3 separate regions of the Homo sapiens genome follow, and all the other regions are linked to region 3. Evidence: promoter capture Hi-C in human tissues and cell types (Jung and others, 2019). All regions are on one chromosome and are shown on one strand. Each heading gives the region's core, a stretch centred on a gene start or on the middle of the fragment in contact. The rest is flanking DNA. Distances are from core to core; before and after follow the strand shown. Region 1 overlaps TBC1D19 (TBC1 domain family member 19). Region 2 has its middle 20 kb from the start of TBC1D19. Region 3 holds the start of CCKAR (cholecystokinin A receptor).

Region 1 (3,739 bases), core at 366-2,865, 97 kb after region 3:
TATCTTTTTTGGTGAGGTAGTCTTCAAATCTTCTGCCCATTAAAAAAAAAATAGTGTTGTCTTCTTATTGTTGAGTTGTAAGGATTCTTTCTATATGATGTAAGTCTTTATCAGATGTGCGTCTTGCAAATATTTTCTCCCAGTCTGTGGATTATCTTTTTTTTTTGAGACGGAGTCTTCCTCTGTCACCCTGGCTGGAGTGCAGTGGTGTGATCTCGGCTCACTACAACCTCTGCCTCCCAGGTTCAAGTGATCCTCCCGCCTTCGCCTCCTGAATAGCTGGGATTACAGGCATCCACCACCATGCCCAGCTAATTTTTTATGTTTCCAGTAGAGATGGGGTTTCACCATGTTGGCCAGGCTGGTCTTGAACTCCTGATCTCAAGTGATCTGCCTGCCTCAGGCTCCCAAAGTGCTGGGATTACAGACGTGAGCCACCACACCCTGCCCAGTCTGTGGATTATCTTTTCATTTTCTCAACTGGGTCTTTGAAAGAGAAAAATGCTTAATTTTGGTGACATAAATTTTTATCAATTGTTTTATGATTTGTGCTTTTTGTTCCCTACCTAAAAGTGTTTGCCTAACTCAAGGTCTTAAAAAAGTTTCTACTATGTTTGTTTGTTCTAGAAGTTTTATAGTTTTAGCTTCTACATTTAGGTCTGTGATCCTAAATGTAGAAGTGTGATCCATTTTGTGATCCATTTGAGTTAATTATTGTATATGGTGCAAGGTAAGCTTTTTTTTTTTTTTTTTTGCATATGGATATCCAGTATTTCCATTACTGATTTGCTGAAAAACCTATCCTTTCTCTGCTAATTTCCTTGGCACCTTTGTCGAAAATCAATTACACACACACACACAAAATTTCTGGCTCTCTATTTTGTTCCATTGATCTATTTGTTCATCATACAATACCACACTGTCTTGCTTTTTGTAACTTTATAGTAAGCCTTGAGATCAAAGTCCTCCAAATTTGTTCCTTTTTTTCCCAAAATTATTTTGGCTATTCTAGGTCCTTTGCTTTGCTATATAAATTTTAGAATCCTCTTATAAATTACTACAAAAATTGTTGAAAATTGGATTGGGATTATGTTGAATCTGTAGATCAATTTGGGGAGAATCGAGATTTTTAGCAATATTAAATTTTCTGGCCCATGGACACAGTTTATCTTTTCATTTATTTATGTTGTTTTTATTTTCTCTTGTCAGTGTTTTGTAGTTTCAGCACACAAATATTGCATACTCTTTGTTGAGATTTTCCCCTTAAGTATTTTGTGGTTTTTGACGCTATTATAAATGGTGACTTAAGTTTTAATTTTTTATTTTTAACATACAGAAATGCAATTGATATTAATCTATTTACCATGTATTCTGAGAACTTGCTAAACTTATATATTGGTTATAGTACCTTTTCTGTAGATTACTTAAGATTTTCCAGGTACATGTATCATAATGAACTAAAGACAGTTTTACTTCTTCCTTTCCAATCCGTGTGCCTTTTATTTCTTTTTCTTGACTTACTGTACTGGATAATGCCTCCAGTGCAATGTTTTGCAGATGCTTTTTTGCAGGTTGAGGAAGCTCTATTCTATCCCTAGTTTTCTGAGAGTTTTATCATGAATGGATGTTGAACTTTGTTAAGTACTTTTTTATATCTGTAGATATGTTCATATTATTTTTCCTGCTCATGTTGATATGATGAATAATACTGATTGGCTTTGAATGTTGCACCAATTTTGTATTCCTGAGATAAATTCCACTTGGTTATGATGCATTATTCTTTTTATATATTTCTTGACTCAATTTGCTAACATTTTGCTGAAGATTTTGTAACTGTATTTATGAAAGATACTGGTTTGTGGCCAGGCGCGATGGCTCATGCCTGTAATCCTAGCACTTTGGGAGGCCAAGGTGGGCAGATCGCTTGAGCTCACGAGTTTGAGACCAGCCTGGGCAACATGGCAAAACCCTATCTCCACAAAAAATACAAAAATTAGCCAGTGTGGCAGTGCGCACCTGTAGTCCCAGCTACTTGAGAGGTTGAGGTGGGAGGATGGCTTGAACCTGGGTAGCAGAGGTTGCAGTGAGCAGAGATCGCACCACTGCACTTCAGCCTGGGTGATAGAGCCAGACCTTGTCTCAAAAAAAAAAAAAAAAAGATATTTCTTTGTAGTTTTTTTTTTTCTTGTAACACTTTGTCTGCTTTCGATACCAGTTAATGATGATCTTATAAAATAAGTTGGGAAGTGTTCCTTATTTTCTGGAAGAATTTATGTAGAATTAATATTATTTGCTCCTTAAATATTTGGTAGAGTTCCCAGCAAAGTCACTGGTGCCTAGAGTTTTCTTTATGGACACATTTTTAATTAAAAAAATTCAATTAAAAATATATGCAGGCCATTCAGGTTATCTATTTCTTCTTCTGTAAGCTTTTGTAGTTTTTATGTTTCAAGAAGTTGCCGCACTTAATTTATTTTAACGAATTTACTGGTATAAAATTGTTTATATGATCCCCTTATATTCCTTTTAGTGTCTGTAGGATTTGTAGTGATAGCCCCTCCTTCCTTCCTTATACTGTCATATGTGTTCTTTTTTTTTTTTTTTTTTTGAGGTGAAATCTCGCTTTGTCGCCCAGGCTGGAGTGCAGTGGCATGATCTCGGCTCACTGCAAGCTCCGCCTCCCGGGTTCACGCCATTCTTCTACCTCAGCCTCCTGAGTAGCTGGGACTACAGGCGCCTGCCACCACGCCCAGATGATTTTTTGTATTTTTAGTAGAGACAGGATTTCACCGTGTTAGCCAGGATGGTCTCGATCTCCTGACCTCGTGATCCGCCCGCCTTGGCCTCCTAAAGGGCTGGGATTAAAGGCATAAGCCACCGCACCTGGCCATGTGTTCTTTTTCCCTAATTAATCTGGCTAGAGATTTATCAATTATATCAATACTTTCAAAGAAGTAGCTCTTGGTTTGATTGTTTTTCTGTTTTCAATCGCTCTGATTTTTTTCCTTTATTATTTTTTTCTGCTTGCTTTGGATTTAATTTGCATTTTTAAAGCTATTTAGGTGAAATTTAAATTTTTGATTTGAGACCTTTATTCTCTTCTAATTAAATGCTCTAAATTTCTTTCTATGTACTGGTTTATCTGTGTCTATAAATTAGGATATAGTCTATTGCCATTTTCACCCAATTAAAATTTAAAAAAATTCTCTTGTGATTTTATGGGTTCTAATAACCCATGGGTTATTTATAAATGTGTTGTTTACCACTATCTTTCTCTGATTGATTTCTAGTTTAATTCTCTTATGGTCAAGAATAAAATATGTATGATTTTAGCTGTTTACTTACTTTTATGATCCAGAATATGTTTTATCTTGTTTGTTTCATATGTACTTGAAAAGCATGCTTATTCTGCTGTTTCTGTTCCATAATTGTCAATTAGGTCTAGTAGGCAATTTTGTTTCAGTATTCTATATCCTTACTGAGTGTAGGGGCTTCAGTCAATATAGACAAGGATCAAGCTGGGTTTGGGTTTTGTTATTGTTGTCATTACCTTCAGTATATCACAGGCTTCAGATTCCTTTGAAACTAGAGGTAGTTAGGAGGCTGAGGTGGGCAAATCACTTAAGGCCAGGAGTTTGAGACCAGCCTCGCCAACATGGTGAAACCCTGTCTCTACTAAAAATACAAAAATTAGCCAGGTGTGGTGGTGCATTCCTGTAATCCCAACTACTCGGGAAGC
Region 2 (3,482 bases), core at 293-2,792, 73 kb after region 3:
TCCTTACTAATTATAGATCTGTTCAGATTTCTATTTCTTTGTGATTAGGTCTTGGTAGGTTTGTGTTTCTAGGAATTTGTCCATTTTATCTCGGTTATTCAATTTGTTATAATACAGTTGTTCATGTAATCCTTTTTATTTCTGTAGAATTAGTAGTAAAGTCCCCAGTTTCATTCTGATTTTAGTAATTTGAGTCTCTCTTTTTTTCTCTTGGTCAACCTAGCTAAAGATTTGTCAACTTTGTTGATCTATTCAAACAACCTATCTTTGATTTTATTGATTTTCTCCATTGTTTTTCTCTCTCTATTTCATTTCTCTCCACTTGACTCTTATTTCCTTCCTTCTAGCTTTGGGTTTAACTTTTTTCTAGTTCCTTAAATGGTAAAGTTAGGCTGTTGATTTGAGTTCTGCTTTTTAATATTAGTGTTTATAGCTATACATTTCCTCCTTAGCACTACTTTTTCTGTGTCCCATAGTTTTGGTATGCCATATTTTTGTTTTCATTCATCACTAAATCACCCTTGTGATTTCCTCTTTAATCCATAGGTTGTTTGAGTGTGTTGTTGGCCAGGGCAGTGGTTCATGCCTGTAATTCCAGCCCTTTGGGAGGATTGCTTGCGGCCAGGAGTTTGAGACCAGCCTGGGCAACATAGCAAGACTCCATCTCTACAAAAGAAAAAAAAAATAACCAGGCATGGTGGTGGGTGCCTGTGGTCCTAAATACTCAGGAGGCTGAGGTGGAAGGATTGCTTGAGCCCAGGATTTCAAGGCTGCAGTGAGCTATGATTAAGCCACTGCACTGTACTCCAGCTGGGTGACAGAGTGAGACCTAAACTCAAAAAAAGTATGATGTTTAATTTTGAATAATATAAGTTTTCCAATTTTTCTTCTGTTACTCATTTCTAATTTCATTCACTTATAGTTGGAAAACATACTTTTTAGATACCTATCATTTAAAATTTATTAAAACTAATATATGCTGTATCCTGAAAAATGTCTTATGTGCACTTGTGAAGAACGTGTATTCTGCGGTTGTTGGTTAGTGTTCTGTATATGTCTGTTAGATCTAGTGGGTTTATTATGTGTTCAGTTCTCTATTTCTTTACTTATCTTCTGTCTAGTTGCTCTGTCCGTTATTGACAGTAAGCTATTAACTTCCTCAACTATTATTATAAAACTGTCTATTTCTCTCTTCAGTTCTGTCCACTATGGACAGAAAGCTATTAACATCTTCAACTATTATTGTAAAACTGTCTATTTCTCCCTTCAATTCTGTTCATTTTTGCTCATATATTTTGATAATTTGTTATTAGGTACATAAATGTTTATAGTTGCTTCATCTTCTTACTATATTGAACCTTTTACTAACATATAATGCTCTTCTTTGCCTCTTATAAATTTTTTTGATCTGAAGTCTATTTTGTCTTACGTAAGTATAGCCACACTTACCCTCTTTTGGTTACTATTTACATGAAATATCTTTTTCTATCCTTTCATTTTCAATGTATTTCTTTCTTTGTATCTAAAGTGAGTCTCCTGTAGATGGCATATATTTGGATCTTTCAAAAATCCATTTAGCCAATCTATCTCTTGATTGGAGAATTTTATCCATTCACATTTGAAGTAATTACTGATAAGAAGGGACTACTTCTGTCATTTTCCTGTTTGTTTTATATGTGCCTTATAGCTTTTCTTTTTCCCTCATTTTCTGTGGTACTATCTTTTTTTGTGTTTGGTTGTATATTTTTGTAGTGAAATGTTTTAATTCCCTTCTCATTTCATTTTTTTACATTCTATATCTATTTTCTTTGTCATTTCTTTGGGGATTATATTTAATATCTGCAAGTTATAATGCTCTAATTAGAATGTATACCATCTTAACTTCAATAACATAAAAACACTCTGCTCCTTAACAACTCTATTCCCATCTCTTTTAGTTATTGATGTCATGACATTATCTTTTTACATTGTAAGCCCTAAAACATAAACCAATTTTTTTTTTACTTCATTGGCCACCTCCTAAATGATGTAGAAAACAATATGTGGAATTACAAACAAAAGTTACAATAATACTTCCTTTCATAACTGCACATGTATTTACCTTTCTTGGGATCTTTTATCTTTATACTGATTCAAGTTACTGTCCAGTGTCCTTTCACTTCACCCTGTAGGATTGCTGCTGCTGAGCTAAGAGCTGAAATTGACTGCAATTTACTGTTCTAACCTTCACCTGGAATTTGCAAGCCTTCAATAGACTCCAGAGTTCCAAAATAGTTATATTGCACTGATTCTGCCAGTGTAATTATTGTCTAGGTAGGAAGATAGATTCTGTTGGTTCCTACTCTGCTGTCTCCCCATAATTTTTGCCTGCTTAGCCTTTAAGGGTCTTGCAAATTGTGATGCTTCTAGACTATCAATAACTAATATCTCACACACAAGATACATTTACAAAGAAGATTATCATTTGTGAGAGTGGATATAAACCTATATTTCAGATAGACATTAATATTTTTGAGAAATTTTGGCCAACTTCTAGTCATATATTTCTCTACAACATTTCTTTTACAAATTGTCATGTGACTGATAAAGGGCTTGTACTAGGTAGTCACAAAATAACAGATTTGCCATTTTGTGTGCATCCTTGCATTATTAACGTGATAGAGTTGGTCTATGATTTCTCTGCAACATCTTTTTTTTGTTGTTGTTCCACTTGGGAAGGTTGATTTAACTGAAATTTGAGCATACCTCTGTAAATCTACTTCCCCTGGCTGAAGCCCACGTGCCTCAAACTGCTGAAAGTGAAGTACATGTGGCTACCACTGTCAGCTCCTCATGGGATTCTTCCACCAGTACACCTCCCATGCTGAGTGGGCAACATGGCTAGAGAATAGGTGACTGAGTGTGGACCATGCTTCTAGTAAATAACAATTGTCCCCACCCAAATCTTATCTTGAATTGTAGCCCCCATAATTCCCATGTGTCGTGGGAGGGACCTGGTGAGAGGTAACTGAATCATGGGGGTGGGTCTTTCCCATGCTGTTCTCATGATAGTGAATAAGTCTCACAAGATCTGATGGTTTTATAAAGGGGAGTTCCCCTGCACACACTCTTTCTTGCCTGCTACCATATAAGATTTGACTTTGCTCCTCATTCACCTTCTGCCATGATTGTGAGGCCTCCCAGCCATGTGGAACTGTGAGTCCATTAAATCTCTTTTCTTTATAAATTACCCAGTCTTGGGTATGTCTTTATTAGCAGCATGAGAACAGACTAATACAATAATGAAGGCTAATTTCATTTTTTTAAGATAAATGCATATAAATAGAACTTCTAATCCTGATCCCACAGTCCTGTTTTAAAGACTGCTAATTCAGGTCAGTAGTTACGTAGTGGTTTAAAAGTTTCTTAATAGAATAGTTTAATTATGTGTTCAAGATTAGGTTATAGGCTGAGTGGGTGGCTCATGCTTATAATCCCAGCAG
Region 3 (3,755 bases), core at 37-2,536:
GCAAGCTCCAGAAAGAGTCACCAGCAGCAACTTACCCATGAAGTAGGTGGTGGTCTTGCAAACGGCGCTCCCGAAGATGAAATCCTTGAGCAGATTGGGGATGAGGTTGAACGGCATGCAGAAGAGACAGAGCATGAGGTCGCTGACAGCCAGGGAGAGGAGGAAGATGTTGGTGACCGTCCGCATCCGCTTGTTCCGAATCAGCACGGTGATGACCAGCGTGTTTCCCAGCACGCTGAGCAGGAATATCAAGGAGTACAAGAGAATCTGCACCGCTGGCTGCCACTCTGCAGAGAGAAACAGGAGCAAGACGGAGGGATGGAGGTGATGACAGCAGAATGCTAAAACCGAAGCCAAGGGTGAATTCCTGCCGATTTTCCCCCCACCGGGGTGTACATCACTGGACCCACGATTCCTGTCCTGGCAACATTTTGCGGAAACAAATTGAGGAAAGCAGAGACTGAATTATTTTCTTTTTAGAAGGTTGGTTTGTTAAAGGATCACTCAGGGAACCACTTTTTCTTAAGAACAAAGCTCCTCAAGTGAACAGTGATCACTTTCTTTCCTGGCTGCTAAGCATTATTTCACTTTAATCACTTCATGCTGGGTTTCCCCCCAAGAAAAGAAAACAGCTGCATGGTGACAACACCTTTTCTGCTGTGCTTGTAAGTTCAGGCTTTGACACTTGTAGTCCCTCTTGCTTCACTCAGCTTTTCCTCCCCTGCTTTTGTTCCCCCAAGTCCTATTCATGAATGCCCAACTCCCCCATGGGGGACAATAAGAATATTTGACTCTATTCTGCTTTTTAATCTCTTCTCCAAACTTCTGAACATATGACTTTATCTAGCCTTGTCTCACAATGACTTGGTTATATATATTTTTTATCAGCCTTGCCTTTGCTGATTTCTCCCACAACTCAATAGTTTCCTGAATTAAAATAACAGCTTCCGACACTTACCTTTGGAAGGACGGGGCTGATCCAAGCAGAAAAGCGTCTCATTTTCGAGCCCGAGTTCACAGGGAGGAGTGATGTTGCTTCCATTCACAAGAAGGCTGTCAACCACATCCATCCTTGCCTGCTGCTTTCCACCAAGTGCTGGAGAGCTGGTGAATTGCTCACTCCCGGCTCATTCCTCTAATGACCGAAGCGTCTCGCAGATGCAACCTGCCGTGGAGGAGCAGGGAGGGAGTGATTTCCAGGTGTGGGCTTTTTCAGCCATTCCTAAAGGCGACTTGAGTTCACCTCACTCACTCCAGCATTTGTACTCCTGTTGTGGAAAAGGCAGTGAGCACAAGCCAAGCCCGCTCCACCTTCACCCCGCCCCACCTCCCCCGGCCCTTTCCTGGGCCAGTCTTAGGGCCCTGAGTACAGACAGCCTGGCTACCCGTTAACCATTCTCAGCGTGTGGCTGCTTTTTACACACATGTGTACATATGCACGGACACACACACACACACAGAGGCTTCCCCAGTACTCCTCTATATAGGAACCCGTCACCATCCCAGACATATGCAGAAGAAAGCCCAAACCGGCTGTGTGAGACAGGAACAATTAACACGGTAACAGATCCGATAATGCAGACCATCAGGCCTAAAGAACACGGAGGGACTGTGTTCTACCTCCTTATAGAAAAGCAATTAGTGCCTTTTTAGCTTTGGAACCATGCCCGGTGGTGTGTGTGTGGACAGAACTGCTGGCTGGTTGTTAAGTTGCTACTAAACACAGTGTTGTTTCTCGTGGTCTCTGCCCTTGTTAACTAGGATTGAGGCACTTTTGAACATAGGTACCTGGGTCCTTATTACAAAAGACGTTAGTGAGATTTCCTCTTCATTCATGAAGCCTTGCATTCAGCACATCTTCATTGAGAGTCAATCATTTGCCAGGCACTTTTCTAGCATGTCAGCAAATAATGAGCAGAATTATTTCAGGTAGTAAGTACTACAAAGGGAGTAAAGCAGGGAGATGTGATGTATACAAACAGATTAGGGGCTGATTTTTTGGGGGGCGGGGACAGGGTCTTGCTCTGTTCCCCAGGCTGCAGTGGAGTGGCGCGATCATGGCTCACTGCAGCCTTGCTCCCTGGCTCAAGCAATCCTCCTACCTTAGCCTCCTGAGTAGCTGGGACTACAGGCACACACCACTAAGCCCAGCTGATTTTTTTAGTTTTAGAAGAGAGGAGGTCTCGCTATGTTGCCCAGGCTGGTCTCAAGCTCCTGAGCTCAAGCAATCCTCCTGCCTTGGCCTCCCAGTGTTGGCATTACAGGCGTGAGCCACTGCACCTGGCCTGGGGCTGCTGATTTAGAAGGGGTAGTCAGGAGAGGTCTCTTAAGGAGGGGACTGTGATCTGAGACTGAACCACAAGAAGGACAAAGTCTTGTGAAGATCCCAAGACAGCTTCTCCCAGGCAAAAGGAGGAGCACTTTTAGCAGAGGTAACAGCAAGTGCAAAGGCCCTGAGGTGGGAATGAGTGTGGCCCCATTGAGGTACAAATAGATAGAAGTAGGAGTGAGTGAGAGGCAAACAGCAGGACGTGAGATCAGAGAGGGGGGCCATCTCAGGGTCCTGGGTGTTCCATGAAGCTCTGTGGTGCTGGAAAGCCCTTCAACCTCCATTGCACAGATTATGTCCTCAGTTCAGACCCTTTGGAAAGCAGACGACAATGGCTGTGAAACCTGCGTTTCTGACGCCCTGCTTGGCTGTGCTGAGACTTGGTCCATTTGCTAGATACCCGTGGGGCTCCTTGTGTACTGACAATGCTTCCACTGGCAGAGCTGCATGCTACATCTTGCTGAGTCTCTGCCAGACACAGAGGAACTAACGCATTTTTACTGTCAGTGTGGGGCTGGAAAGACAGTGGTGCCTCTTTTCTTTGAAACCATGAAGACCACATGGTTTGGGGCATTTAGTCACAGAAACAAGAAGGGGAAGGGACACTGGAGAAGCTGTGGATGTTATTGGGAGGACAGGCTTTGGCATCAGACAGACTTGGGATCAAATCCTGGCTTCACTGGTTACCTGCTAGGAAATACTGGGCAAATTAGTTTCCTTCCTTCCTTCCTTCCTTCCTTCCTTCCTTCCTTCCTTCCTTCCTTCCTTCCTTCCTTTCCTTTCCTTTCTTCCCTCCCTTCCTCCTTTCTTTCTCTCTCTCTTTCTTTCCTTTCTTCCCTCCCTCCCTCCTTTCTTTTTCTCTTTCTTTCTTTCTCTCTTTCTTTCTTTCTTTCTTTCCCTTCCTTCCTTCCTTCCTTTCCTTTCTTCCCTCCCTTCCTCCTTTCTTTCTCTCTCTCTTTCTTTCCTTTCTTCCCTCCCTCCCTCCTTTCTTTTTCTTTCTTTCTCTCTTTCTTTCTTTCTTTTCCTTCCTTCCTTCCTTCCTTCCTTCCTTCCTTCCTTCCTTCCTTCCTTCCTTTCCTTTCTTCCCTCCCTTCCTCCTTTCTTTCTCTCTCTCTTTCTTTCCTTTCTTCCCTCCCTCCCTCCTTTCTTTTTCTCTTTCTTTCTTTCTCTCTTTCTTTCTTTCTTTCTTTTCCTTCCTTCCTTCCTTTCCTTTCTTCCCTCCCTTCCTCCTTTCTTTCTCTCTCTCTTTCTTTCCTTTCTTCCCTCCATCCCTCCTTTCTTTTTCTCTTTCTTTCTTTCTTTCTCTCTTTCTTTCTTTCTTTCTTTTCCTTCCTTCCTTCCATCCATCCTTCCTTCCTTCCTTCCTTCTTTCTTCTTTCTTTCTTTTTTTTTTTTTTTCTGAGACGAAGTCTTGCTCTGTTGCCCA

What was found. Contacts are between HindIII fragments. The study calls those that stand out against the background at their distance.
Region 1: a contact is called between a fragment that was not itself captured here and the fragment with the promoter of CCKAR in region 3, in 2 of the 25 tissues and cell types used here (IMR-90 fibroblasts and lymphoblastoid cells).
Region 2: a contact is called between a fragment that was not itself captured here and the fragment with the promoter of CCKAR in region 3, in 2 of the 25 tissues and cell types used here (neural progenitor cells and thymus).

What each region holds. Positions count from the first base shown.
Region 1 is chr4:26,585,436-26,589,174 of GRCh38, forward strand. All of the region lies in intron 1 of TBC1D19 (TBC1 domain family member 19), which reads left to right. Among named protein-coding and RNA genes, the nearest start is that of TBC1D19, 3.2 kb to the left of the region's middle. The HindIII fragment of the contact is 5,892 bases long and covers 1-3,739 here.
Region 2 is chr4:26,562,061-26,565,542 of GRCh38, forward strand. No RefSeq gene overlaps it. Among named protein-coding and RNA genes, the nearest start is that of TBC1D19, 20 kb to the right of the region's middle. The HindIII fragment of the contact is 9,820 bases long and covers 1-3,482 here.
Region 3 is chr4:26,489,198-26,492,952 of GRCh38, forward strand. It overlaps CCKAR (cholecystokinin A receptor), which reads right to left and starts at 1,287. Exons shown (of 5, transcript NM_000730.3): 1 at 959-1,287; 2 at 36-287. The coding sequence starts at 1,070. The HindIII fragment of the contact is 14,703 bases long and covers 1-3,755 here.